Linked DNA regions of Homo sapiens: region 2 is linked to region 1. Evidence: promoter capture Hi-C in 16 types of primary human blood cells and fetal thymus (Javierre and others, 2016). All regions are on one chromosome and are shown on one strand. Each heading gives the region's core, a stretch centred on a gene start or on the middle of the fragment in contact. The rest is flanking DNA. Distances are from core to core; before and after follow the strand shown.

What was found. The method cuts DNA at HindIII sites, captures the fragments that hold promoters and counts their contacts. A CHiCAGO score of 5 or more calls a contact.
Region 2: a contact is called between a fragment that was not itself captured here and the fragment with the promoter of ACACB in region 1, in 2 of 17 cell types (M0 macrophages and endothelial precursors). The highest score is 6.9, in M0 macrophages.

What each region holds. Positions count from the first base shown.
Region 1 is chr12:109,112,351-109,118,521 of GRCh38, reverse strand. ACACB (acetyl-CoA carboxylase beta) reads right to left here and starts at 1,935. Exons shown (of 53, transcript NM_001093.4): 1 at 1,818-1,935. The HindIII fragment of the contact is 11,769 bases long and covers 1-6,171 here.
Region 2 is chr12:109,383,498-109,389,818 of GRCh38, reverse strand. It overlaps MYO1H (myosin IH), which reads right to left. Exons shown (of 32, transcript NM_001101421.4): 2 at 975-1,136. Among named protein-coding and RNA genes, the nearest start is that of LINC01486, 27 kb to the right of the region's middle. The HindIII fragment of the contact is 1,389 bases long and covers 1,614-3,002 here.

The DNA of each region.
Region 1 (6,171 bases), core at 686-3,185:
GAATTGCTTGAACCTGGGAGGCAGGGGTTGCAGTGAGCTGAGATTGTGCCATCGCACTCCAGCCTGGGTGACAGGACGAGACTCTGTCTCAAAAAAAAAAAAAAAAAAAGAACAAGGTCAAAGTTTCTACTGGGATAAGACTTCAAGGAAACCTCCATTTCAAAAGATTAAAATGTTTATTTCCCCATGAAGACTGGGTATCTCATGTAATGTAATACTCAAATTTCTGTCTCAGACCTAAAGGTGTTGAAAGTATGAGCGAGTTTACACAACACCTGAGCAGGAGCAAATAAAACTCTTAAGAGCTTCTGAAAGAAAGTTACAGATTAGAGATATTTTCATCTCTAAATCACATGAATTAGGATTGGCTGGGTCTTTCCACTTAAAACTTGGAGAAGTCATAAAAAGAAATCTTGTAAAGAACTCCATGTCACTATTAGCAGAAACATGCAATTTATAAAATGATATCTTTGGCCAGGCGCGGTGGCTCATGCCTGTAATCCCAGCACTCTGGGAGGCCGAGGCGGGCGGATCACTTGAGGTCAGGAGATCGAGACCATCCTGGCTAACACAGTGAAACCCTGTCTCTACTAAAAATACAAAAAAAATTAGCCGGGCGTGGTAGTGGGTGCCTGTAGTCCCAGCTACTTGGGAGGCTGAGGCAGGAGAATGGCGTGAACCCAGGAGGCGGAGCTTGCAGTGAGCACTCCATCTCAAATAATAATGATAATAATAATATCTTCACCTTTCAGTTTTTAAATTGCAAGTCCCATGTCCCGGGAATTCCCCGGTCCTGGGCAAAGTGGGATGGTTGGTCACCCAACCTATATGGATGCCCATTGATATTAAAAAATAAAAGTAATCACAATAGACATGAGGGAGAGAGTTGTGTACAGTGTGAGTGTACAGAATAAAAGGTCTGGGGGGTTTATACCAAAATGTGCACAGTGGCTACCTGGAGGAGGAGGGTTAGACAGGAATAACAGCAAGGAGACTTTTGCACGGTGCTGAGTGACTTTTTAACTTGCATATTATTTTGGAATGCATTTTTTCAACATTGAAAGAAAGTCATGTCTTCCTAGAAATATAGGATATAGGACCACTACAAACGCTTTACTCTTAGTCTCCTTTTTTTCTTTTTCTTTTCTTTTTTTTTTTTTTTGAGACAGAGTCTTGCTCTGTCAGTCAGGCTGGAATGCAGTGGCGCAATTTTAGCTCACTGCAACCCCCACCTCCTGGGTTCAAGCGATTCTCCTGCCTCAGCCTCCCAAGTAGCTGGGATTACAGGTGCCCATCACCACATCTGGCTAATTTTTATGTGTTTAGTACAGATGGGGTTTCGCCATGTTGGCCAGGCTGGTCTCGAACTCCTGACCTCAAGTGATCCACCTGCCTCTGCCTCCCAAGGTGCTGGGTGGCATGAGCCACCGTGCCCAGCCTTAGTCTGCTTTAAAAAAAAAAAAAAAAAAAAAAAGAACAACCATTTGAGGAAACAGAAACAGAATACTATTCCTTAAGACAGTAGCTTTGGAGGCAAAAAACAGAATTGTTTATAAAACGTTGTGGAACTTATATGGGAGCATGTCCAGGGATCCACACCACCATTTATAGAAGCAAAGAAAGGCCCTTCTCTTTCATCTGCGTTACATTTCGAGCTCTTCTGATTAGCTTCCTTCAAACATGACGGGAGTCGTTTTTCCCCGGGGACCCCAAGTGCATGCCTTCAGACAGGGTCTGCTCTCACTATACATTGGGTTCGAATTTACCTGGACGTTGGCAGAATGGTCCGGACCCCGGGGAGGGGCGAGCTGACTTACCACTTTATTCCTGCCGCTTTTCTCTTGCCATGTCCTCCCCACCGTGCATTCAGGGTTACATTTTCCAGGTTCCTTGTTTGCTGAGGGCCTGAATCTAAGCCTGCTAGCTGCTTACTCTGGGGACTGCAAATGTCACTTTTAGATTAATCAGCCCCTGCTGTTTAAAAATATCCCTGGAGCACTTAACCTTCAAAGCAGCAACAACCCGGGGCAAAGATGAGAAAGATCCCACGTCAAACCACTTGTGCAGCCCTGGCTACTCCTGGGAGAGTTCTGCTATCTGCCTTTTAATCCCATAACTCGCTTTATTTCATAATTCTTAGCTGTTGAAGCCATGAGGCATCTAAAGTCCATGTTGTCGTAAGCAGTAGGCAGAAAGTCATCTGGGCCCTCCTGTGACATGCTGAAAATTAACTGCCTACAGGTGTTGGTCATTTGAGAAACAAGCCCCCATTGAAAACCGTGAATGGGAAGGTGATCGCTATCAGGTCACCTGGCTTCTCTCCCCTGAAAAGATTTGGCGAAACCCTCTCAAATCACGCCACTTAATGGAATGTTTCCAATTTCTTGTGACTTGGGGATAAAAGAAAAAAACAGCTCCATTGCCACATTCTCATTCAGGGTTGACTGGCTCTTGCTAGGGTTGAGCACAGAAGAGGAAATTCAGCACACGCTGCAGTTACATAGTGTTCTGCAACGTGGGGAGGGCTGGCATGTGGGACAAAGGTCGCCTCCAAGGCCCAGCTGGAGAAGCCCAGCCAACTAGGCAGCAGGAAAGTGGAGACCACATAGGAGCACATTGTGCTCAGGCAACAGGGAAGGTGGAACCCACTTCCTGCCAACAATGATGGCCTTACTAAACAGCAAGTGGAGAAACTGGCGAGAGCGCTGAGCACGGGATCTGTGCAAAATGGTTTAAATGGAAATTGCTGCTGGGGCTGGTGCAGCCTGTTCACAGCTACTTTGTTTCTGGGCTTATTTTGCAATAAGGAACAGTCATTGAATATTGGACTTCTTGGGATTTTCTCCACTGGACTTGGAAGCATGTGCTCTGGAAACCTCAGCATTATCAGCTGTAACCCCACAGCACCAGGTACATGTTACAGGAACCGGGGTGAAGGAATGCAGGTCAAATGCCTGCACAATGCCCGGCCCGAGTCATATGTTCTCTAGCCACAGTAGCCCTTGTGATGGCTCTTAGTCTATTTATTAAGACAATAAAAGAGGTGACTCTCAAACAAACCTATGTTTCCAGGGAGAGCCATCTGTGATTCAAGGACATTTTTATAAAATTCCATTGAAAAAAATTCTTAGGCTTCTAACTTCATGAAAAAAAAATTCTTTCCCAGTGATTCCAAATAATCATGATCTAGGCAGGGTGTTGACAGTGGCAGGACTATTAGGCTTTGAAATCAAGCTGATGTGGGTTTGAATCCTCCCTCCATTAGCCATGACTTTGAGCAAATGGCTGAGCTTCAGTGTCCTCATCAACTACTTCACCATATGGGTGAGAAAATGAAATGATTTATATTGAGTTTCTGGCACAGGGGCTTGCTCATGACAAGCACTTAATATCTTTCTAATGAAATTCATTACTTGCAAAAAGACTAGACATACCCACACATACAGGTGAAGAACTCTGCAGTGATTCAGTTCTCCCTAGACACTATCTCTTTAAGACACAGGTATTTTCCAGAATATAATTGGAAGGCTTGAAACCAAAGTTATTCATAAACTCTTTCCATCAAACACAAGAACGGTAATAGAAATATATTTCTTCAAACAGCTGTTAGTTTCAGAAAGTCACAGGTATCAAGTTACATTTTTTGTTTTGTTTTGTTTTGTTTTAGAAATAGGATCTTGCTCTGTTGCCCAGGCTGGATGGAGTGCAGTGGCATGATCATAGCTCACTGCAGCCTCGAACTCCTGGGCTCAAATGATCCTCCTGCCTCAGCTTCCCAAGTAGCTAGAACTACAGGCACACACCACCCCTGGCTAATTAAAAAAAAAAAAATTTTTTTTTTTTAAAGACAAGGTCTCATTATGTTGCCCAAGTTGGTCTTGAACTCCTGGCCTAAAGCGATCTTCTTGCCTTGCCTCCTAAAGCACTGGGATTACAGGTATGAGCCACTGTACCTGGCCCAAAAAAAATTATTAAGTGACCACATGGTCTAACAAAACAAGGCACCTGGAAAGAAATCACCAGTCCTGCTGCAAACCGGACCCTCTGTGAGAATTCACATGCCTTCCCCCACCAATTAAATCAGAATTTCCAGGGATGGGGTCTGGCTTTGCATGTTTTAGCTTCTCTAGGCTGGAGGAGCACTAGCTTCTTGTTGGAAGGCTCCCTACCTTCCTCTCCCACACCCTCACCCCAAACATCATTAAGAGAGACAAAAGAACATGCTATATACACAACTAACAAGCAGAGAACATAAATTATTGATCTCCTGGTCTGCTCCGCTCACCAATATTTATATTTCCAAGCATATTTCAAAAACTTAAAAACTGGTTCCCTAGCCTGGGCAACTTAGCAAGACCCCATTTCTATTAAAAACTTAGCCAGGTATGGTGGTGCATACCAGTGGTCCCAGCTGCTCAGGAGGCTGAGGCAGGAGGATCACCTGAACCCAGGAAGTTGAGGCTGCAGTGAGCCATGACTGAGTCACTGTACTCCATCTTAAGAAACAGAGTGAGACTCTATCGCAAAAAAAAGAAAAAAAAATTGGTTCCCATTGACTTAAACTACAAAGGAACTTCCTGTTGTCAGACCCAAATTACAGTGTCAGAAGGACTCTAAACAAGGAGGCCATCTCCAGCAGAGGAATGTTCTAGCTTTCCTCAGCTTGAGTCAGCACAAGTCAGCATGTGAGGTCTTTTCAAAGTAACCCAGAGCACCTCCCTGCAACCTGTTTTTCCTTGCAAATCTTGAAGGTTTGGCAAGGATGAAAAGCCAACACCACACGCATACGCCAAAAAGTTTGCTTCTCCACCAAACATACTTGCGAAGACTTTTATATGAGAAGCAAACTGAAGCAGAAAGTGAATTTGAACAGAGATGTATTATCTAATAATGCAAGCATACTAGCAACATGCTAAAGTCTATCTTTAAAAAATGCAAACAATTTATAGTCCCTGACCTTCCCCTGCTGGATGTAGATCAAAAGCAGGCAGTGACTTTCACACAATTAATTATTTTATAACTGGACGTTTCCAGTACAACATTTGCTAATAACTGACTTCCTTGTGTTACCAATTCCAAAAGCTGTCAGAGATCTCCCTAACTCACCTGAAAAGGGAGGAAACAGGAATCATTAGGCCAGGTTCTCAGAAGCCTCCCAAACCTTGCCACGTGGAACCATCCAGCTCCACATCCAGCATGTGGGTCCTGCCTTTGCAGAGGCAGGCTCCTCAGTGTTGAATGCTCTTGTTCCTCTTTGTGGCCTGGAAAGTTCAATATCCACTCAGACATTCTCTCCACTGGGAAATGTCTTCTTTCCTGGGCTGACCCAGCCGTTGCTGCCTTTTTGTTCCCACCGCACTGACAGTGAGTACACACAGGGGTCTGCAGACTGTGGTTCCAGATGCCTGTTTTCCAATAGCTCCCAAGCTAGGAGTGGTTTTTACATTTGTTAAATGCTTAGGAAAAAAAAAGATTTCGTGACACATGAAAATCATATTAAAATCTAATTTCAGTGTCCATAAATAATAAAGTTTTATTGGAACACAGCCTCGCCCGTTCCTGTACGTTTTGCCCACGGCTGCTTTCTCTGCAGTGAGTTGTTGAGCAGTTCCCACGGAGAACGGGTAACTGCAAACCCTCAAATATTTACCACCTGACCCTTCACAGAAAGTTTGCCAACCGCTGACCTAAAAGGCTAAGACTGCCTTTTATGCATCTTTGCATACTGAGTGCAGGAATATAGCAGACTTGACACATGAAAAAAGCAACTACCACATAGCTAAGAGTTCATCAAAATGAGTTGCCTGGTTGGTTTTTTTTTTTTTTTTTTTTTGAGACGGAGTTTTGCTCTTATGCTCTTGTTGCCCAGTCTGGAGTGCAATGGTGCGATCGCCCGGGTTCAAGTGATTCTCCTGCCTCAGCCTCCCAAGTAGCTGGGATTACAGGCATGTGCCACCACGCCTGGCTAATTTTGTATTTTTAGTGGAGACAGGGTTTCTCCATGCTGGTCAGGCTGGTCTTGAACTCCCGACCTCAGGTGATCCACCCACCTCGGCCACCCAAAGTGCTGGGATTACAGGCGTGAGCCCCCACACCTGGCTGAGTTGCCTAGTTTCTAAAGAATCAGTAATTAAATTTTTGGAGGGTCATGGACCCAGAAGCTGCTCTGTG
Region 2 (6,321 bases), core at 1,059-3,558, 270 kb before region 1:
AGACAATTATTTTTAAACCACTTCTGTCTAATTTACTCTTAGCAAAAAGCTAATAAAATCTCAAAAAATTAAATAATTTTAATAACACCCACGACACACACAGGGACACTATGAAGTTTACCCTAGAGGAATTTACCTGAAAAACGACCCTCAAATCAGAGTATGGTGATAAATGGGAATTTAACGAAAACTAGCTTTTGAATAAAAACTAGATGTGACAAGATCAATCTGAGAAGAGTTTGGTAAGTGCTGCATTCTCGACCCTTGACCATTCGTGGGGTGTGGTGGACAGCTCTTATTTTTGCCTGCTTGGTATCTCTGCCCCTTTCTCCCAACAGAGTCCTTTGGGGAACCCTCTTCCCCAGCTCTCTGCCTATACCGTCCAGGGCTCCAACTCCACCCCTCACCTTCAGGGGCAGGCCTGGTAAGAGCCTGGCCAATCAGAATAGTCTTCATTTCTAGCCATGGGATTGGTTCAGAGACAGGCACATGACCGAAAGTGGGCCAATCAGAGCTGATCAATGTCAACTTGGGCCATTTACTAGAGCTTATCCCCAGAGTATTGGCTCGCTTCTCTGCAGCAACCCTGAGCTGATAAAATGACAGCCTGGATCTGAGGGCAGCCATCTTGCTGCCATGCACTTGAGAAAGAAATGGATGCCTAAGAAAGCAGAGCAGAGATTGAGAAGGAGTTGCCAGACATTGTCTGAAACCCTAGATCTAGTCCCGGGACCTACAGTAACAGACATGGACAGATTCCTTTTAGTGACTTAGGCTGGTGTAAGTTGGGTCTCTGTCACGGGCAGCCATAAACGTCTTAGCACAAAGGATCGAAGTGCATCTAAGAGTGGCGCCTCAGTATCTCCCTTTAATGTCTAACCTAATAGAGTGCTATTATTCACACTCATCAAAGTCGTGAAGGCAAGAAGGGAACAACCACCCTAGAAAAACAGCTGAGAAGTGGGTCACGTTACGTATATGAGGTTCTCGCTGAAACGCTTGCGGAGGTTGTCGACAAAGGCAGATTCGCTGGTGTACGCGTCCAATAGCACAAAATCCTGAACCCCGACCTTGTCCCGGGCAGTCAGCGCCCCTTCCATGTGCAGACGGATGTGTTTCCTCCTCACGTCTTCTTTCTACGGGAAATAGAACATTCTTCAGCAGCTCATCTATTTGGTAATATCTATTACACGTCTAATGCATGGAAATAACAAGATGCTAAACCCTGGGATAGTAGAGAGCCAGCATTAAATTATGCCGTCTTCACTTAGAGTTTACAATATGGTTGGGGATACAAGATCATAATCATAAAAAATAGGAATAGCAGCAGCTGATAGGAACCAAGTATTTACTGCTAGGTACTATTCTAAACACTTGACTTATACTGTTTCATTTGATCTTCATTCTGACCCTATGAAATACTATTATGATGCCCATTCTACAGATGAGAAAACTGAGGCATAGGAATGTCATAAGCCACGCCCAAAATCTGCCAAAAGACGCAGCCAGAAAATGAACCTAGACAACATACCCAGACTTGCTTTCCTGACAACCATGGACTCAATAAATGTTTTTTTTAAATTAATGTTTCCTTTATGTTGATTAGTCAAGCTTGAATTTTTTCTTTTTTTAAAATTAATTTTTCTTTATTTCAATAAGTGTTAATTGTGTAAACTCACTTTGTAATTCTCACATGGGTGGTGAGGAGTTTGGGCCAGAAAGGGAAATTCTTGCTACAGAGGAATATTTAAGGAAGGACAAACTTGGAGTGTTCCTCTCCAAGGATGGGCTTCAGATGTCACTGGAGAAGGTGTGGCTACAGCCCATTGGATGGCAAAGAATCTCACCAGGATACCAGGGCCAGAGCTGGTTCGGTCACTGGGCAGGCACCAGGCATGACCTTCCTGAGCACCCGCGCTGCTGGATGGGAGACCATGGAGGGGGCCAAGGAAATCAACCTTCCAGGGCTCAGGCAAGCTGCGGCCAGAGGGCAGGTGTGCGTTGGGAGAGGGAACAGGAGTAGGTATGAAGCCTGGAGTGTGTAATGTCTGCATCAGGAGGGCTGTGACAAAGTGGTCACCAGGCCCTTGGCCAGAGCTGTGAGGTCACTGAGAGACTATGTGCTCTGGGCACACGGTTAGTGTGTGTCCCCCCCACATACCACGTGCAGCAGAATGTACAGTCTGAAAACAAGAAAAAGCAAAACATAGCAAAGGACATCAGGAAGAGAAGCGGCCTGCCTTTGCAATGTCCCTCCAGTGCCCTCTAGTGACAAAAATGACATTGTGTTCACTTTAAGGAGAAATGCCTAAAGCGTGCAGTTGGTTATTGCTCAGCAGGTAATGAAGGGTGAATTTGGATCTGAGAGGCAATAAATTGACAACTGGTACATATGGATATGCAAAGGTCCTAGCATAGCCAAATTAACCTTGCAAAAGAAAAACAAAGCTAGAATAAGACTGTGTTTAATAAGACTGCGTCTCAATTGATTTTCAGTAGAGGTCCCAAAACAATTCAGCACAGAAATGGAAAACATTTCCATCCAATGGTGCAGGAACAACTAGATATTTATAAAGAAAAAAAATTGCAGTTGTGTGTGGTGGCTCACAGCTGTGATCCCAGCACACTGGGATGCTGAGGCAGGAGGATTGTCTAAAGCCAGGAGTTGGAGACCAGCCTGGGCAACACAGGGAGATTCCCATCTCTACTTAAAAATATATAAATAGAAAAAGAAAGTAAAAATGCATTTCAGTCCCTATATTACATTACACTACACTACACACACACACACACACACACACACACACACACACACACACACACGAACTTGAGATGCATCTTAGACCTAAATGCAAATTTAAAATCTATATAAAGCTACTGGAAGTAAACAAGGGGACCATCTTTGTAACCAGGGGAAGGCAAAGTTTTCTTAGATGAGAGCCAGGAAGAAATAATAATAAAAGACACAAAATAAGAAATCAGACTTCACCAAATATAAAGCTTCTCATTAGAAGACACTGTTAAGAAAATAGGCAAGTCACAGAACAGCAGAAAATATTCCTAAATTATACAGACGCAAAGAATTTGTATCCAGAATAAAAGACACCTACAGTCCAATAATAAAAAGACAAACCCAATGAAAATTTGGCAAAAGACTTGAATAGACACTTCACAAAGGAAGATAGACAAATTGGCAATACACACATAGAAAAATGGTCAACATTGTTAGTCATCAGGGAAACACAAATTAAAACCACAATGAGATACCACCACAATAGTTAAAATTAAAAACACTGACAACACCAAATACTGGTGAGGATGCGGAGCAGACAGAATTCTCTCGCACTTCTGGTAGGAATGCAAAGAGAATCACTTTGGGAAAAAGATCTGGCAGTTTCTAATGAAGTTAACCATGCCTCTATTCTTTGATCCAGCGATTCCACTCCTAAGTATTTACACAAGAGAAATGTAAACATATGTCTACAAAAAGACTTGAACATGAAGTTCAACTCATGCTCAACTTTATTCAGAACGGCCCCTAACTGGAAACAATCCAAATCCCCATCAACTGGAGAATGGCTGTGGCCCATCTGTACAATAGAAGGAGGACAGCAATAAAAGAGAAATAACGGGTACACGCAAGAGCATGGATGACTCTCACAGACATTATGCTGAGTGAAAGAGCCCAGACACAAAAGAGTCGTACTGTAGGATTCCATTGATATGGCACACTGGGACAAGCAAAACTAATCCACAGTGAAAAATCAGAACAATTGTTGCCTAGTTGAGGAGTTGTCAGGCAAATGACATTTTTGGAGTGATGAAAACATTCCATATCATGATAGGGCTGTGGGTTACATGAGTATATCTATCGGTCAAGATAAACTGTTAAAATTGTGTGCATTTCACTATATGTAAATTTTATTTTTGAAAAACAACCGTAAAAAATAAGTGGGGAAGAGGTAGGGATTGGCTGGAGGTATGAATATAAACGGAATGGCAGAATGTTAATTGTTAAAGCTAGGTGGTGGGTAGAGGGGGATTTATGATACTATTCTGTTTACTTTGCATAAATTTGAAGTTTTCCATAAAAAAAGTTTTAAAAAACAGAATGGCCACCAGATGTCTCCCTACACTAGCCAAATGGAGCTAGAAGAGCCTTAATCACTAGCAACCTAACATTCAAAACAATGCATTTAGATCAAACAATATTTTAGTGATTTCAGGCTGGGCGTGGTAGGCTCGTGTTTGTAATCCTGGCACTTTGGGAGGCCAAGGCAGGCGGATCACTTGAGCCCAGGAGTTTGAAACCAGCCTGAGTAACATGTTGAAACTCTGTCTCTACTAAAAATATGAAAACTAGCTGGGTGTGGCAGTGCGTGCCTGTAGTCCCAGCTGCTCATGCTGAAGTGGGAGGATCGCATGAACCTCAGAAGGCTGAGGCTGCAATGAGCCATGATTGCACTGCTACACTCCAGCCTAGGCAACAGAGTGAGACATTGTCTTAAAAAAAAAAAAAGAAAAGAAAGAAAGAAAAAAAGAAACATTTTAGTAATCCCAAATATTTCCATGCTGTACCACATATAGCATAGCATAATGATTAAGACGTTGGAACACGAGCATTTCCAAGTTCAAATCCTATCTCTGTTGCTTCCTGGCAGTATAATCTTGGGAGAGTCCCAAGTCTCTTGTTTCATCTCTATAAAACGGAATTATAATTGTACTTACCTCATAGGGTTGTCAGTTTCACCAGAACCATGTAAAGCACATGGAACCCTGCCAGGCACAATTTAAATTTAGTGAGTGCTTGCTTTTGTCATCATTAGTATCAATAATCACGATTATTAGAAATAGAAACATAGTAAAGCAAGTCTGCTGATTAGGAGTCAATGAGCCTCTATTAAATTGGAGGTGGGTTGGTGTCTGAAATAATGTCTGGAGCTGCACCCAGAAATATTACTGCAGTCAGGTTGCTGCAGGTGGAGGATGCAGAGATTAACCAAATTTCTCTCTTAGCCTGGTCCTAAGGATGGGAGGGTGGGGTACTCCTGCAGTCAGCCTAGGAACTGATGTGACTTGAAGCCCAAAGAAATTTGACAAAACCTTGTAGATTAAGGAACATGACAATGATTTTTAACTTGCCAGGGTCAAAGCAGACTCCATTCACTTCAGACTAGAGTTTTGTTTATTGCAATATTTCAGTTCTGACACCTCGATTCCTTTGTTGATTTCCAGTTATCTTTTAAAGGGCGTGAGAAAACGAGAGTGTCCCAATAAGAGTGACATGGACCATCAAAGGGATGAATATTGGGACATAAAGGAGAAGGGTAATCAAGAAGTTGGAGTGATTCAGCCTTGACCAAAAAGATGACTAAGAGACTTATAAAGAGAGCATTAAATCCAGATTAAATAAGAGGGAGGAAATTAAAGAGATCTTCAATTACACCTAAGAAAATTAAATTAAATCAAATTAAGTTACATCTAAGAAAGAACTCCATCTTTGGGGTGATAAAACTGTGGAGGATCCTAACTGTGCATAACCATGGTGCAGGGATCACAGATTCTGCCTGTTACAGGGTTCCAGCAGGTACCATGACTGAGTCAAGCTGCCAGGTGATGGGGACTGGGTTAGACTCAGGAATGAATGGCCATCTCTGGTGTGTAGCTACTGTCTGGCTCCAGCTGGTTGACATCAGGCACAAATATAGGGCCTGTGTTGCCAGAACTTCCGATTATTTAAGTCAGAAGTTTGGAATTACATACCCAGTCCTGTCGTACAATTTACCCTTGCAGGACATTATTTTGCAGCCTCTGCAGCAAGCCACTCTTTGTCTTGGATGGTTTAGACCTGTTGCTCATCTAAAAGCAGGGGATTCAAGGAAACACTCAAACCAGAACCATCATTTTGGAAGTATCATGTACTCAGTGATGATCTGATCATCTTCTACATAATCTAATGCTTGACCCAGTATGTGGAGTCGGGGTGGGGAGATGACAGGGAGGCCACAGTATGTGGAAAGGTGGTGAGATGCCATGGTAGAGGCAGAAATGCCTGCCAGCTATTCCGTGGACTTCCCCACATTTACAAACTCCCTTGCAGTTAGGTGGAGTTGCTTGACTACTTCCGGCCAACTGGCTGTAAATAGAAGTGACATTTGTGTAAGACCCTTCCAGTGTTATTAGAACTTCTTTGATACTGCAATGACTGAGAATTTCTTTTGCTGAATGGACAAGCCACAAGATCAAAACAGCCTGGATTCCTGAGCCATCACATGGAGGAGAGATGTCTTGAAGAGTCATCAACACCCACAGTAGACTTTG